3 separate regions of the Homo sapiens genome follow, and all the other regions are linked to region 1. The links are contacts of gene promoters, found by promoter capture Hi-C in blood cells and fetal thymus (Javierre and others, 2016). All regions are on one chromosome and are shown on one strand. Each heading gives the region's core, a stretch centred on a gene start or on the middle of the fragment in contact. The rest is flanking DNA. Distances are from core to core; before and after follow the strand shown.

Region 1 (4,916 bases), core at 1-2,500:
CATCTAAATGCCACCACTATTATGAGAATTCCCATGTTATGAGAGCTACAATGTGAATATCAAAGATCTTACCTTACTTCCTGCTCTCATCCAAAAAAAACAAACAAAAAAAACCTCTTGGAAATAAAACACTTCATTAACAGATGAGCCAAGAAGCCATATCAACGCTCAGCGTCTCCAGGTGATCGCCAAATCTGGATTCTCTGAGAGACGGAAGGAAGCTAAGATGGTTGAGTCCTTACTGTGTGCACATGCCACAGATTTACATGCATGGTCACAATTTCCATGGTATCCCTATGAGATGGGTCTCACTCACTTCAGTTCACCAATAAGGACACAGAAGCATGGAGAGGGTTAAGTACATTGCTCCAGGTTTCCACAGCCAGTAGGAAATGGGAGAGAAGGGTAGGAGGAGGGCAGTGATTCAAACTCAGATGTGTTTATATGAGGTCAAAGCCCATGAAAAGCAGTAAAAATTTCAGACTAAAATAGCCTGAAATAATAGTTACCTATACAAGAAGAAAAAATTCCAATCGCCAATGAGGTGGAAGAGTTTTATGCCCAATTTAAACTAGTATGCTTTTTATTCACATAGATGTATGTAGTGTCAATGTCTACTCTTAGACTCCACATTTCTCTGTGTCAGTGAGGTTACTGGTGCCTTACCTGGAATCTTACAATTCTTGATTTAATAAAATATGTGATTTATTACGCAAGCAAAGTACTGGATCCCATTGTTATGTCTACATAGAAAATACAAAAATATTTATTTGCATACCTACACAGGTGTGCCCATTCGAGAGGCTGGGCCTGGACTGGTCATCGTTGGCTGGAGAGGCCGAGGACTGAAGAGACAGGAGCAAGAATAGAGGCGCCACCGTAAGGATTTTCCAGGGGGACTGCATCTCCGAGCTATGCACCCCAAGTGATCACCCGGCTTTGGAAGCTCCCAACTGAGGGATGCTGGAGCTGAGGCTGCAGAATCAATTGATCTCTCTCTCCTTCTCTTCCTCACTCTCTTTGACACACACACCCCACCCTCTCACATACACACTTTTCAATAAGTGTGAAGTGAATAAAAGCACACATAAACACTCACAGACCCACAGCTTGCTCTTGTTGGACCCTGAGAGAGCCACACACAAAGAGCTGGAGGGAGTCTGTGGTGTGCGGTTCTGCTGAGGTAAAGACTGCAGGATAAAGAAAACCCAAGTTGCACAGTGGCACAACTTCCGTGCTCCCTGGCTCAGTGAAGTTAGTGTGCATAAACCCCGTGAGCCTCGAGGCTTGCCGGAACTGATCTGTTGGGTTGGTTAGGAGGCCCTTCCCCTTTCATTCTTGCAAAACAAAACAAAACGATACTAAAGCCAAAACTGAGAAGAAAAAAGAAAAAAAAAACTAATCCACAAGCACACAACCCTTTAACAATTTGATCAGCAGCACCCACATATTGTAGAAATTCTAATTGGTTACATTCAGAACTTACTTAGTCTTGTTTTCAACAGCTTTATATGGTAAGGTTGTGATCCTTATTTTGTTGTAAAAGGATATTCTGGTCAAATAATATCTTTCCTCTGGAGAAATTGGGTTATTCCTTGAAGGGTCAAGGCCTTTTATTTGGTGTGCAGAAAATAAACAGTACAGAAAATAATGGGCAGTTAGCATGGTGGGATTTTAGACCTAATGAGAAAAAACATGGGTTAGAATTAATCAATTCACAGTTGCTAGGCTGTGCACAATGCATCTTTTTTTTCTCCAGAATTTCGAAGTGCATTTTGTGGATGATTTGTTAAGAGACTGATTTTCTGCTCTGAAGAATAGAACTGAACACTGTCTTTCTGAGGGAAAAAAAAAATCGGAACCAGATCATAGATAAAAGACATATAATCTAAATGTTTCTCTCTAAAATAAGATAAAACAAAATCATATGCCATTCTCAGTCAAGATAAGAGGACAGGGCCAAAGTACCACAGTCTAGGTAAGTGTAGGAGGTCATGAGATTCTGTTTCTCTCTGCTTAGGCTCTGAGGGAGCTTATTACAAATTTTGAAATATTATAGAAGCTATCTAAATTGTTAGCAATTAAAAAAAATAGCATTTGGAGTAGCAGGCAAAGTTTTAGAGTAGCATCCTTTCCAGGATGTAGGAAATACCAGTTTTTATGGTTGGAAGATTTCTTGTGCAGTCATTAGTCTTACAAGCACCGATGGGGCTACAATTCCCAAACCTGCTGCAGAGATAGCACAAGTCAGAGTGTTTCCCTAATTACACTTCCAGCCCAATACTGAGGATATCGTTAGGCGTCCATGGGCCTGTGACTTCCTCTGACTCTAAGGTGCTGCTGCTTCAGTTCTTCACTCTGTGACTAAGGGGAGCTCTGGGGTCACTAGGACCACCACAGGGGTGAGGCCTAGAGAAGTTCCAGAGACTTCCAAGGGAGGCTAAATAAAGGACTGATTGATTAGGAACTCAGATTGTGAAGACAGAAAGGCTCATGCTTACGTCTCATGTCTACTGTTTATTCTGAGTAATATATTAGACCAGTGATGTAACTTTCCCCCCTTCAGTGTCTTGTTTTTGTTGTTGTTGTTGTTGTTTGTTTGTTTTTTGAGACAGGGCCTTGCTTTTTCATCCAGGCTGGAGTGCAGTGGTGTGATCACAGCTCACTGCAGTGTTGACCTCCTGGGTTCAAGTGATCTTCCCACCTCAGCCTCCCAAGTAGCTCATTTCTATTGGGATAATGGTAATATCCGCTCCAATGCGCTGCTGGAAGCACTCGAATACATGATGTATCCAAACAACAAAGCAGCATGGCTGGCAAGAAGTAAGTGCTTAGTGCATCTGTCTATGACTCTAGCAGGAGTGTGATGAAACCTGCACCCCAGACCAGCTTCAAGAGAATTCCAAGACGCCCATGGTAGTTGTAGGCCATCATGTCATACATGGGAAATGGTGAGGACAGGAAAAGGGAGGATTTATTGAATACCTTCCAGCTGTGCTACAGCACTCCAGGAGTGTGTGGTCTAGTTTGTCTAATCCATAAATGGGTGAGGACTCTCCTGAGGGCTTCTGGAAGAGCATTTGACACAGGCTTTGGGCCTCTTGAGGCTCTCCTGGTCTCAATGTATAGCTGCGAGCAGGTCTGGAAACTCTTAGAGTGAGAGGGATTTCTTGGTATGCCGGAAATGCAAGTTTTGTGCCCTTCATCGCATGTATGTGGGCCAGGCAGTGCCATTCACAACCATCCCAGGGATGGTCGGCTCTGAAACTCTCTAGTGTGCTCAGGCTTCGGGGCTGGTCACAGTGGGAGTCGCTGACTTAGCTGTGCAGTATTGAGCAAGCCCCTTCCTGTTTCCAGAGGTGACAGTCCTCAGCTAGAAAAGGGAGGTGAGACTATCTACTTCGTAGGAATATATCATGGTAAAACCTGACACATAGGTTTTCAGTAATGGAAGGATTTTTCATGCTTGGAGGGTGAGTTCTTACTGGGCATGATCAAAGGAAGAATGCAGAAATCAGAAAGTGATTTCGCCAGCAGAAGCTGGAACAAAGTGCACGTGTGCACAGACCACTGAACAAAACATCCCTCTCCGTCACCAGGATGGAGTGGACCCTCCCATTTGCACAGTTGTCCTTCACACTGGCTGGTATCATTGCCCCTGACAGGGCTGCCTTTGCTCATCAAGTACTGAGTGCAAATGACTTGGGATCTTTGCACAGCTTGCCAAAAGGCCCTGGACCTACCTGTGGTTTAGAACAACTAGTCAGGCCCTGGAGAATGTTCCTGCAGGACCCCACTGTCAGATGTTCCAATTTTGAATCATCTCGAAATCTGCTCTTGAAAATGAGATTTCTTCCCTGAAGCACTTTGTTACTGATTTCACTCAAACAGCTCTGATTCAAACCACTGCTTTCCCCTGTGCCATGGAAGGCTAAGGCTTTGTGATCCCCAAGTGTTGCACCTGTGGTCTGCTTGTTCAGTATGAATATGCTTCCTGAATATTTTTTGACCACATTGGCCTCAACCACCTCATCCACAGCAAGTTCCTTAATCAGAAAAAAAAAAAAAAAAAAAAGAGGTGGGTGATGGGAGATCCTGTAAAAGCTGGCACTGTCACCAACACGTGTCTCGTCTTAGACTTTCTCCTCTCTCTAAGGCCCAGGTCCATGCTGCCCTGTTACTCCTGGCTGCCCAGGACTGTGTACAGCAGTCCTCAGTTCCCATCTACCAAAACCAGGCCCTCTGCTGCTCCCCTCCTCCTCAGTCAGAGCTTATTAACGCTAGCCTCATTCTATTCTGTTCTGCTGTCTGCTAAGGACAGGGTAAATTAACCCATGCTGAGGATGCATGGGGGCTCATTAAAAGAGCTCTGGGCTAGGATGGGGGGCCTGTGTCATGGGCTCCCCTCCTAGTAGCTGTGTGCCCTGGGTAAGCTGCTCCACCTTTCAGAATACCAGTTTATTTTACTATAGAATAGGGCATATAATGTCAATATTTAAGAAAATTGTGAGAATTAGAGAGACAACATGAATTTAAAAACATAATATTAACTGTTAGATGAATGTGAAGCTGACAATGAATTCACATTATTCTTCTCAAGTAGCATTGAAATTTTGGGGGAAGTTTTTTAAATCAAGATTTTAAAAATTGCTACATAATAACTGTACATATTTCTGGTGTACATGTGACATTTCAATACGTGCATGCAATGTGTAATGATCAAATTAGGGTAATTAGGATATCCGTCATCTCAAATATGTATCATTTCTTTGTCTTGGAAACATTTAAAATTCTCTTTTCCAGCTATTTTGAAATATACAATGAATTGTTGTTAACCAAAGTCACCCTACTGTGCTATTCAACACCAGGACTTATTCCATCTAACTGTATTTCTGTAGCCATTAATCAATCTCTCT
Region 2 (4,916 bases), core at 1,169-3,668, 470 kb after region 1:
ACACTTGTGCACACACATGTAATACATGTACATACACATAAACATGTGACTCTAGTACACACTTAGAGAAGAACCCACTCTAGGCTTCAGCAAATGATCTCACCCGGTGCTGCCTCAGCAACTTGTCCCTCTAAATACATCTCACTGGCACTTCTCATCCAGAATGCTCTGGAAAGCCCTGGCTCTCCTGGAGAAATTCTCCAGAACAAGCACAGAACTTGACACATGAAGACTGGAGTCCCATGTGTCACACACTCGATGTATGTCCTGGCCAGTTTATTCTCTGCTCTATAGTTTCCCAGCTCCCCTTTCATTAAAATAGGCTAACAAAACACTTGCCAGGTTACTGTAAATCTCAAGCAAATGTTAACTTGTGCTAGGTATTTGTATTTCCATTGGCCTTCTGGCTATCTCCAGCTGAAAAGTCCTGACAGTAATTCAAATGTCCTTTATCCTAAATGGAACAAACCAGCCCCTTCCCAAAGCTGCATCTCCTATCTGCAGAAAGAGCAACCCAGCTTCCCGGCCACACAAGCTGTGCAACACTCCCCATATCCAATCTGTTACCAAGCCCTGTGCTCCACACCTTTTCTTTCACATTTGTTTTCTCCCTTTCTATTCCCCTTCTATTTCTAGTTTCGGCCAATATCACCTCCAGCCTCTTCCAACTTCCTGCCATCTTTTTACTACCACCGAAGTGAAATCCTCAGCTTTAACTGCATTATTTCTTAACTTACAAATTATCAAATATCATCCAAACACCGCAGCACATAATATTTTATGGCCCAGCCTCAAAGGAGCAGAAATTGAAGGAAACTTCACATTCTTCCACTTTCCACTCCTTGTTGGTCACCCACGCTCCTCCTCCTCCCCAGCTCACTCATGTCCAAATGCTCCCTATTCTTTAAGGTTCATCTTCAGCGTCCTCTCCACTGTAAAATCTCATGGAGTCCTCAAATAAATTCTCCTTATCCATTTTTGGAATTTCAGAAACACTTTATAGTCTATTTGTATGATTCTCATAGCATATATCAACTTCTACCTATAAGTAAAGGTGTCTCCTTTCTTGAACGGTAGAATCCTTAATTGATCTATTCATTCATTCATTCAACACACACTTACCATATGCCTATCCAGTGGCAGGAACTGTGCTGGGTGCAAGAGATGCAAAGGTGTGCTAAGTAGACAAGGACCTATCCCTCTGGTGGGACATCAGGCTAATAAGCAAGTACAAACTACGTGCTGAAACGGGGGTAGGACCTGGACTGGGAGAGCTCCCAGCAGGCTCCCTGTGTCTAGTCTAAGAATACAACACACTCAGTTCTGAACTGAGAATTGTAGAGGACAGGGGATGAGAGTGCCAGGAGAGAGAACAGCACACATGAGGTCCAGAGTGATAAGGAGTTCACTCAACAATCAATTCCATGAAGGCCTTGGCTTCTCCGATTCATCTTTGTGACTAGAGAGAGGCCTGTCCGCACACTGCCTTAAATATCATAAATGCTCATAAATGTTGGTTGCACGAACAAATGAATCAACACATTAGTCTCTTATTTTTAGTCTAGATTAAACTCCAACATGACCCTATTGCCTGGCATGATCCGTTACTATCAAAGTGCTCTACAGGTGACCGATGGGACGCCATTCTACAGTGAGCCACTCAGATAGATGGAAGAAATCCACAGGCCCCTGTCTCACACCTTGGATGCCTGTTTGGATGCCCAGCCATGCCCAGCTGGCTGGAGGCGGGGCTCCCTGCACTGAGCAGCAGTTGCAGGAATCTGTGATGCTTTCCCAAAGTGAGGAAGAACTGTACCTCCTCCCAGAGCTTTCCTCTCCGAAAAAGCTGGCGTGGCTCTTCTCCTAACAGACCTGGTCCCAGACGGACCACCTCCAGTAGATGCCCCTGAACTTTAAAAGCTGTACTGCAGAGGCCTCCCTCTTCCTGGTCTCCATTTTCCAGCCCTTTCCCTTTGCCCTAATGCTCATAAGTCACAGGGAAGGCTGCAGTGGGAATGAGGGAGAACCCTTCAAGAAACAAGGAAAAGCTTTAGTATATGACATCACAGATAAATATATTAAAGGGCTGGGGGGATGGAGAGAACCAAATTCAAATCTGCTAACTTCAGGCTCCATCTATGAACAATAGAAGGCAAAAAGTGAAGGCCGATTTCTGGGTTATCATGAAGCAGGAAGATGAGCACTCAGGACCTGTCATGAAAATACTTGCTTTCCCTCACTGCTTTGCCCTGGTTATGAAGCAAGGTCATCAACAAATGAACAACATCAAGAAGGCAGGCAGAGGCTCAATAAGCTGAGAATGGAGACAAGGCCTCTTGGATTTACCTGAATTGAATGTAAAGAGCGACTGAGACCTTGTAGACAGCATGTTCCCTTTTCCTTAAATAGCAAGACAGCACAGCCTCGAGGCTGAGGTGGGGGAGGACTGGCGTCAGGGTGAAAGGGGCCAAACACTGGCCCTGCCACTTGCTTGCTGTGAGCATTTGCGAAGGATTTATAGCATCCCTGGAAAACTGGAAGCACAATTTTGCTTTCTACCCCCAGATAGAAACGTGGCCTTGCTCCTGCTGGGTTTAGCTTGAGATTCAGGAAGGACGATGCTCTGTGCATGTTCCCTTAAGAAGCAGCAAGTGGATAGTTGGTGTGTGGTCTTCATTAGTGGGAATACCATCCTGAGTGTGGAAAGGCCACAGTGAGACAAGCATTTGGTGGCTTTCTCAAGGACTCCAAGGGAGTGGGGGGTGTCCTTGGCATGGGAGGCTAGAAATAAAGCTTCACTAAGATCTGCTACTTTCATCTATTTCACTGCCTTGCTCCCATGAGTGTCTGAACCTGCGACTAAACAACTTGAAAACAAAAATTAAGTCTGCATATGTCTCCTTGTGCTGCTGAAACACTGCAGCTATTGTGGGCAGGTTTCAAATCTTCTGAAGCTGTAAGCCTCTTTTTATTCGTCTCTAAAATAGACATAATAATCCTTGTGTCTTGTGTCTTGTGGAGACAGAATGAGATACTGCATATGGGAACTTTCTGGCTCAGGTCCCAAAGAGTCCCCTAGACACTACTGCTGCTGGGTGTGGCCACTGCAGCTATTTTCTGCAGCTATTTACTGGGATAAGACCAGTAGAAACCCTAGCAGGCAACCTAAAAATGATAGATTCTCAGCAGTCTAGCCAGTTTGGTAATGTAAACATTTAAAGAGGAGGGACAGGAATAACAAGAAAGCAAAGGGTTAATAAATACCCCTTACCCTTTTAACCATGTTGTCCCAAGCACCATCTCGGGAGTGTGCACCACTTCTCATTGGAAAGTTTGTAGGTTTGCAGAGTTCATGGAAGATTCTTCCTGCTCCTCTTTCTCTCGTCTTCAGAATGAACAAGTGCAGGAAGTATGCAGAGATGCCCGCACAGGGCCAGTTCTTATGTAACCATGTGATTCTCAAATTGGTTCTTGTCCCTTCCCATTGGAAAGGTTTTGACAGTCTTCCTACACATACAAAATGCCATCCCCAGAATTAGAATCCCACGCCATGAAGCCAGCTCCCAGCATAAAAATTACTTCCCGGCAGACGTGAAACAGACATGTCCGAGTCTGGACGTCGTGCTCACACCTCCTCTCCCGAGGTCACATCACACTGAATTCAGAGGTAGGAAGGGCACTGTGACAAATAGTCACCACTTGAAAAAATGGAAAACAAAATAAAAAGTACCACAACAGCACACTGTCTCAGGAGAAAGGATAAAGATAGAAGGCATGCTAGCTTTGCGTGGAGCTGATTGATGGCCATCAAAAGCAGGTCAATGGGAAGCAGGTAACTGGATCACAGGACTCTTAACTGGTCATTCCTTCCCTCTCTTGCCTGCACCCCAGAATAACCAGCATGATTCTCAGGGGTGCTTTGATATGATCCTACTAGAGGCAAAATCACGAGTACAAGCACCTACAGAAAATCATCAGAGGAAGAGGTGCTGGATGCCTATAACTACCTTTCCCAGGTACCAGGACCCCATCACCACTCAGCCCTGCCAGACTCTGGTGGTCCTCTGTCCTAGCACTGTCCAGCCTAGGTCCAAGGCACTCTCCAAAGGGTATCGTGGATGGAGTCATCCAATTGAAAAATGCTTCCTGTCATGGACAGTAATATTGATTTAATATATGTTGTGGTTTTGAGTCTTATCTGCTTTTGAAAATCTGCACAAGAGCAGGCAGCATAAGGACATCCTCGGCCATGTGCCTACATGCTAATTCCTGAGTAGCAAAAATACAGAGCAAAAAATCCACCGCTTCCTTCACTAAAGAGGCTCTTTGAGGGGTATAAAAGTCCTGCACTGCTAAGCACTCTTACGAAATTCTCTAGAATTCATGGACTTTGGGATATGCCACTCCTGACAATTAACTGTTTTTGAAGCCATGTATTTCTACTCTCAGACCCAGCTGGTTATAGTCAAATGAAGAATGTCCCCAGTCATCTGGGTTACTGTAAATGCATTCTGCAGACTCATTTCCACCATCAGATCCAAATGACAATCATCAATTGTAAAAACTTACTAAAACTGGCTCCATGCCAAGGCTTCTCAGAACTTAACATCAATTAACTCATTAATGTCCATAACAAGCCTGGGTGGGAGATACGACTATATCCAACTCACTAATGAGGCAAGAAACACTTAGGTAAATTGTTCAAGATCACACAGCTAATGAGCAATGAAGCTGGGATGCAAAACCAGGCAGTCTGGCACCAAAGGCTGCACTCGTAAAAGCTATGTTTTATTAGCCTCAAACACAATTGACTTGCTTATACATTACGAGACCCTGACGTTTCTTTGCCCTTGGTTCCCTATGTGTCACCCTTGCACCTGCTGGATGGTGCCCTTTTGCTCCAAAGCGCCATGTGC
Region 3 (4,916 bases), core at 1,376-3,875, 450 kb after region 1:
AGAAGGAAAATTGCTATCTTCCTTACAACATTGAAGCTAAAAAAAAATTTGTTCCATGTACGGGTATAAGTACTGCATGCTTGATACAGCAAACAGAGGTTTCCATTGACTATTTTCATTGAGTCCAAATTTCCCTTAACTAGCAGACGGCTCTTACTCATCTCAGCAAGCTCCTAGCAGATTGACTTTTTACTGTGCAAGGAGTAGAAGTCAGCAGGGAACTCGGATCCTGAAACAATAAGAAAATTGAGTTGAGATGGATATGTAAGAACCTTCTGTTATAGTAAACAACGTTCACAAGACTTGACTTTCCTCTTCAACGAAATGTGAAATAGCATTTCCTGTATCTTAATTTAATCTGCCTAATAAAATGTTTATAAATGGATTACATCATCTGCAACTGCACAGAATTTAAGGCAAACTCACTTAACTCTAGAGATGCACTCTTTGAAATTGTATTTAGAGACTATGTGATATCCTGTATTCTCTGTCCTGGCCAGTATGGACCAGCACCTAGGACTGCAGGCCACCTCTTCTTATTCATGCTATACCATCTTCTGGCCCAAAGTGACCATGTGAGGTTCCAAGAAAAAGGACCATTGAGGGAGTACAAGCCACGTCACAGAGATCCCCACTGATGGAAGGAAGCAATGGAGTAGATGGCCAAAAACTCTTTGAATGTTATTTCAAATCTGCCTCGGATTATACATTGGACCTATTATAAGGGAATTTATTTCAAATTAAGTAGTGAAGCTACATTGCAAAAGCACAGATAGCTCCTAGTCCATGCTGCTGTTTCTGAGTGAATAACTAAATAAGTGAGCCTAAAGGGGTTTCAGCACAGTCCAAGTTTTCCCTCTCTCTGACCTTCTCCTCCAGCCCCATGGCAGCGTCTTGAGGAGATGTAACTCAAAACAGAAACCCAAGGTGAAATTCTTCTTGATCAAAGCCTGTTAAGCTCAAAACTTATATAGAGAAGAGAAAAGAAATATTTTCTTTTTAAAAGGTCTCTCTTTCCTCTTCAGCCTCTACTGAGAACCACCACCCCAAACCTGAAAGCCCCAAACAGACAGTGTCTGCTCGGCTGGCTTTAGTGAGGTTAGACAAAGATAAACCACATGGTGGTGGCTGCCCCAAGCCCCAGCAATTCCAAGAATTACTAACTGAATCCATGGCCACATCAGCCCATCTTCTGGTGAAGCTAACGTCATCTGGCTTGTGTCCTGAATAATACCTTAGTGATTATCTGAAGATCACTGATACTCAGCCCTGCTCTCTCTTTGCCTTGAATCTGCCCAATTACCTCATCAAATTCCTTAACGTATTAAATGAAACCATGACTGGGGGGCTTAAATCTTTAGTCTTCTGCCCTTCCCCATTCTACCCCAACTTATTTTACACATCTCAAGCAAATGAGAGCATCCATTCTATGCTTAATACCCTCCCACTTCCTTTTTCCTATAAAGATGCCCAGCGGTCATCTCACGTTTTTGTTAATCACTACACAACACCAAAGCCAAGAAAAGGACGAGATTCACTGCAACACTCATTCACGGAGGCAAACCTACTTCACTATGAATCTCTGTTCATTGTGTTTGGGGTTTAGAGAACTCTATTTAGGGGTCTAGTTTAATCACCAAAAATCGAGCCCCCTAAGATTAAAATGTTTTCTGATGATTTCTAAACAGCCGACGCAGGCATTGTGCCTAAAGAGGAAAGGGTCAGTTTGCCCCTGGGCTCCTGGACACATCAGCATGAAGCTTCAGAACTCATCAGCCATCTGTATCGAGCGGGCTATCTGAGGATGCATGTCAGAGCTCTTGTAATCCAGCATCCAGCAATTGAGCTTAAGTGTCACTCCTGGCTAGATATCCAGGCATGCCCCATGCCCACTAGGTCCCATGGGTACAACAAACTCCAGGCACCAGTACATGATGTTATTCATTGAACGGCACTCACTTTATGATCTGTGGCTGGCACACTGTTAATTACATGGCAAGGAGAGGTCAATATCAAGCTAAAATGGAACCCAGCTGTCCCACAATATAATCACGTCCACCTGAGACACTGAGCCGTCACCTTTAAATCACTTGTAAGCACTAGCTTTCATAGCCTCTCTTCTATCAATAAGCCACACCACAAATGCAGTCCCTGAATCCTGCAGTTTTTCAGCATAAAGCGACATTTTCTTAGCACACTCCAAATTTAAAGCCTATTTTCTCAATAAAAGAGGAAAGGGGTTAAGAATGGTAAAAAATCAATGGCGAAGTGGGACCCGAGATAAAGTGGAGGGGGCAGAGAGAAAGGTGATATAGAAAAAAGGAGTGGAAGGGAAAAAAGGAAGGCGGGAAAAGAAAAGAGAAACAGCATTTGAAACACTGCAAAGAGAAAATGATCAGCAGAATAATAAGGAGACAAAGAAAAGGAGTGAAAGAAAAATAGGTTGGGTAGTTTGGTGAGATGAGCATATCCATAGTGTTTGTTCCTTCCAAATTTTGAATACGGGCTTCATAGCAAGCTGTTCACTACTACCAACACCTTGTGCAATGCAAATTAGTCACTACCAAATCTCTACATTTGTCTGCAAATTTTCAATGTCCAGTTGGAACGGCATGCCAATAGTAACACATCACAGAAAGTATTGTCAGGCTGCAGAGTCAGTCCTCCCCTTAGGACAGCTGAAACCAAACAGCAGTTGAGACGGGCGGCCCACCATGGAGTTACACCCAGGGTCACCTTCCAACAGGTTTCTTAACCCTCTGGGGACACTTGGCTTTCACTCTTCCCCATGCCCAACTCAAAACCCAACAGGCTGGGCACTGTGGCTCATGCCTGTAATCCTAGCACTTTGGGAGGCCAAGGCAGGCAGATTGCCTGAGCTCAGGAGTTCGAGACCAGCCTGGGAAACATGGTGAAACCTTGTCTCTACTAAACATACAAAAAATTAGCTGGGCGTGGTGGTGCACGCCTGTAATCCCAGCTACTCGGGAGGCTGAGGCACCAGAATCACTTGAACCCAGGAGGCGGAGGTTGCAGTGAGCCGAGATTGTACCACTGCACTCCAGCCTGGGCGACAGAGTGAGATTCTGTCTCAAAGAAAAAACAAAACAAAACAAAACCAACAAACGACTCATGATCACTTTAGAATGGACAGTGTCTCTGTTCTCAGTGTATAAGAACATAGTTACTTTTAGTTCCAAGTTGAACTGCAATACCTGAAAATGATTTTCACAGCAGCATAGGATTCAGATTAGACACAAGAAAGAACTTTCAAGTGATGTTTGGAATGATATACAGGAGATCGTGGCTGGTTCTACAACAGTCTTTGGATATAGCTGAGAATATGCTGTCATTTACTAGAGATAATAATTTCAGTATAGCCTACAATGGGCTAGGCAAATTAATTTCAGAATGACCTTTAACATCTCAACAATTTCCCAAGCTCCCCAAAGACTCATCGACTGTTATACTTTCACTGTCATTTCCTAGAAAAGCTTCCTCAGAATCCTAACAATACTTTCAAAGAAAAGGACTGCTTCCTTATTGTCACCTCCTCCCTATGCATTGACAAAGTACTTTCTTATAAATGACAATGTGCTAAAAATAGTCACAAATAAAACAAAACAAAAAGCAACATATAGCCTAACGACCATGAAAGTCTCCAAATATTTTGGTCTATCGCAGTGAGATAACTGAAAAGGAAACAGAAAGCTGTAAGAATAAAAATGTACAATATAATATTGCTTACAAAAATACTAGAACATTGAATGTCCAGTACTTAAAAATATCAAAATATATACAATGCATCAACCCAATGGAATGAACAGCCATAAAAGTAATTGTGGTATAACAATATGAAAAAGTGCTTGTGAGATAATGCTTCAAGTAAAACATAGAATAATCTTTTCCCTCCTATTACAATTATTTGACCATTTACAAAATGACCAAAAACTGGAAGCAAACAGGAAACAAAAATAACTAACGGATGCACTGTCATGGAAACATGGAACACATTTTCTTTTATTTCTCTATTACTTTTATGCTGATATTGGTTGCAGTAAACAAAAGTTAGAAGACAAAGTAAAGAAGGGAAAAGGAAAACACAGTTATAGCTTTTAGACGACTATATAATCAACGTCAGACAATACTGGCATAGACCAATATGGAAGACACAGCTCAATGCCTAAGTACGGATATGGTGTAGCCATTAAAAATGCTTAGGAAGGACTGTAGATGTATCTTCCAGTGGGAAAAGTGACCCAGCAGAAATGGACATTGTATGTTACAAACTAGATAAAAGGTGGGAAGAAGAGTTTCCAGTGGAACTGAAATTAAGAGCTTCAAGGAATTAAAGAAGACCACCTTTCCAATTAGACACTCTCAGAATGAGAACTCTAAACATAGCATGTTCTAGCAGAAGATTGTCAGATAAAGCAAATCTGAGATTTCATTTTCTGTGCCCTGTCAAGAAAACTTTCTGCTATGAGTGGCTTGTAAAACTCATGATACTCCACTCTGTGTCAATGGTTGCCAAACACATTCACACATAAAGCAAAATATACTAGCAATTAAAAACATCATGAGCACAAGAAAGTACAAAGAAGTGGCATGGGAATAGTGCTTCTTTCAATAGTTCTCAAACTTCAGAGCTAATTAAATTTCTTTGTTTTCCCCAATTGGAAGCATAGTAATTAGTAATATTCAAGTTACAGCACAATAATTTAAAATGTATTCTGAGAATAATTTGAATTAAATCTTAGGAAATAAACAAAAGTGACCTTCCTTCTAAAGACTGACTTTATTTTGAAAACTATTTGTATTTGTTTTCCTCTGTTATGTGTCGCATTTCATTCCTGTCACTCTGTGTTCAAGAGGACACTACTTAAAGATTTCTAATTTAGTGTGTACCTAATGAG

What was found. The method cuts DNA at HindIII sites, captures the fragments that hold promoters and counts their contacts. A CHiCAGO score of 5 or more calls a contact.
Region 2: a contact is called between a fragment that was not itself captured here and the fragment with the promoter of AOAH in region 1, in 6 of 17 cell types (M1 macrophages, non-activated CD4 T cells, naive CD8 T cells and 3 more). The highest score is 6.9, in M1 macrophages.
Region 3: a contact is called between a fragment that was not itself captured here and the fragment with the promoter of AOAH in region 1, in 3 of 17 cell types (naive CD8 T cells, total CD8 T cells and naive CD4 T cells). The highest score is 7.4, in naive CD8 T cells.

The regions. Positions count from the first base shown.
Region 1 is chr7:36,723,244-36,728,159 of GRCh38, forward strand. AOAH (acyloxyacyl hydrolase) reads right to left here and starts at 1,251. Exons shown (of 21, transcript NM_001637.4): 1 at 779-1,251. The coding sequence starts at 905. The HindIII fragment of the contact is 12,094 bases long and covers 1-4,916 here.
Region 2 is chr7:37,193,830-37,198,745 of GRCh38, forward strand. The region is part of intron 13 of ELMO1 (engulfment and cell motility 1); the gene reads right to left. Among named protein-coding and RNA genes, the nearest start is that of ELMO1-AS1, 200 kb to the left of the region's middle. The HindIII fragment of the contact is 745 bases long and covers 2,047-2,791 here.
Region 3 is chr7:37,172,754-37,177,669 of GRCh38, forward strand. All of the region lies in intron 13 of ELMO1 (engulfment and cell motility 1), which reads right to left. Among named protein-coding and RNA genes, the nearest start is that of ELMO1-AS1, 180 kb to the left of the region's middle. The HindIII fragment of the contact is 1,734 bases long and covers 1,759-3,492 here.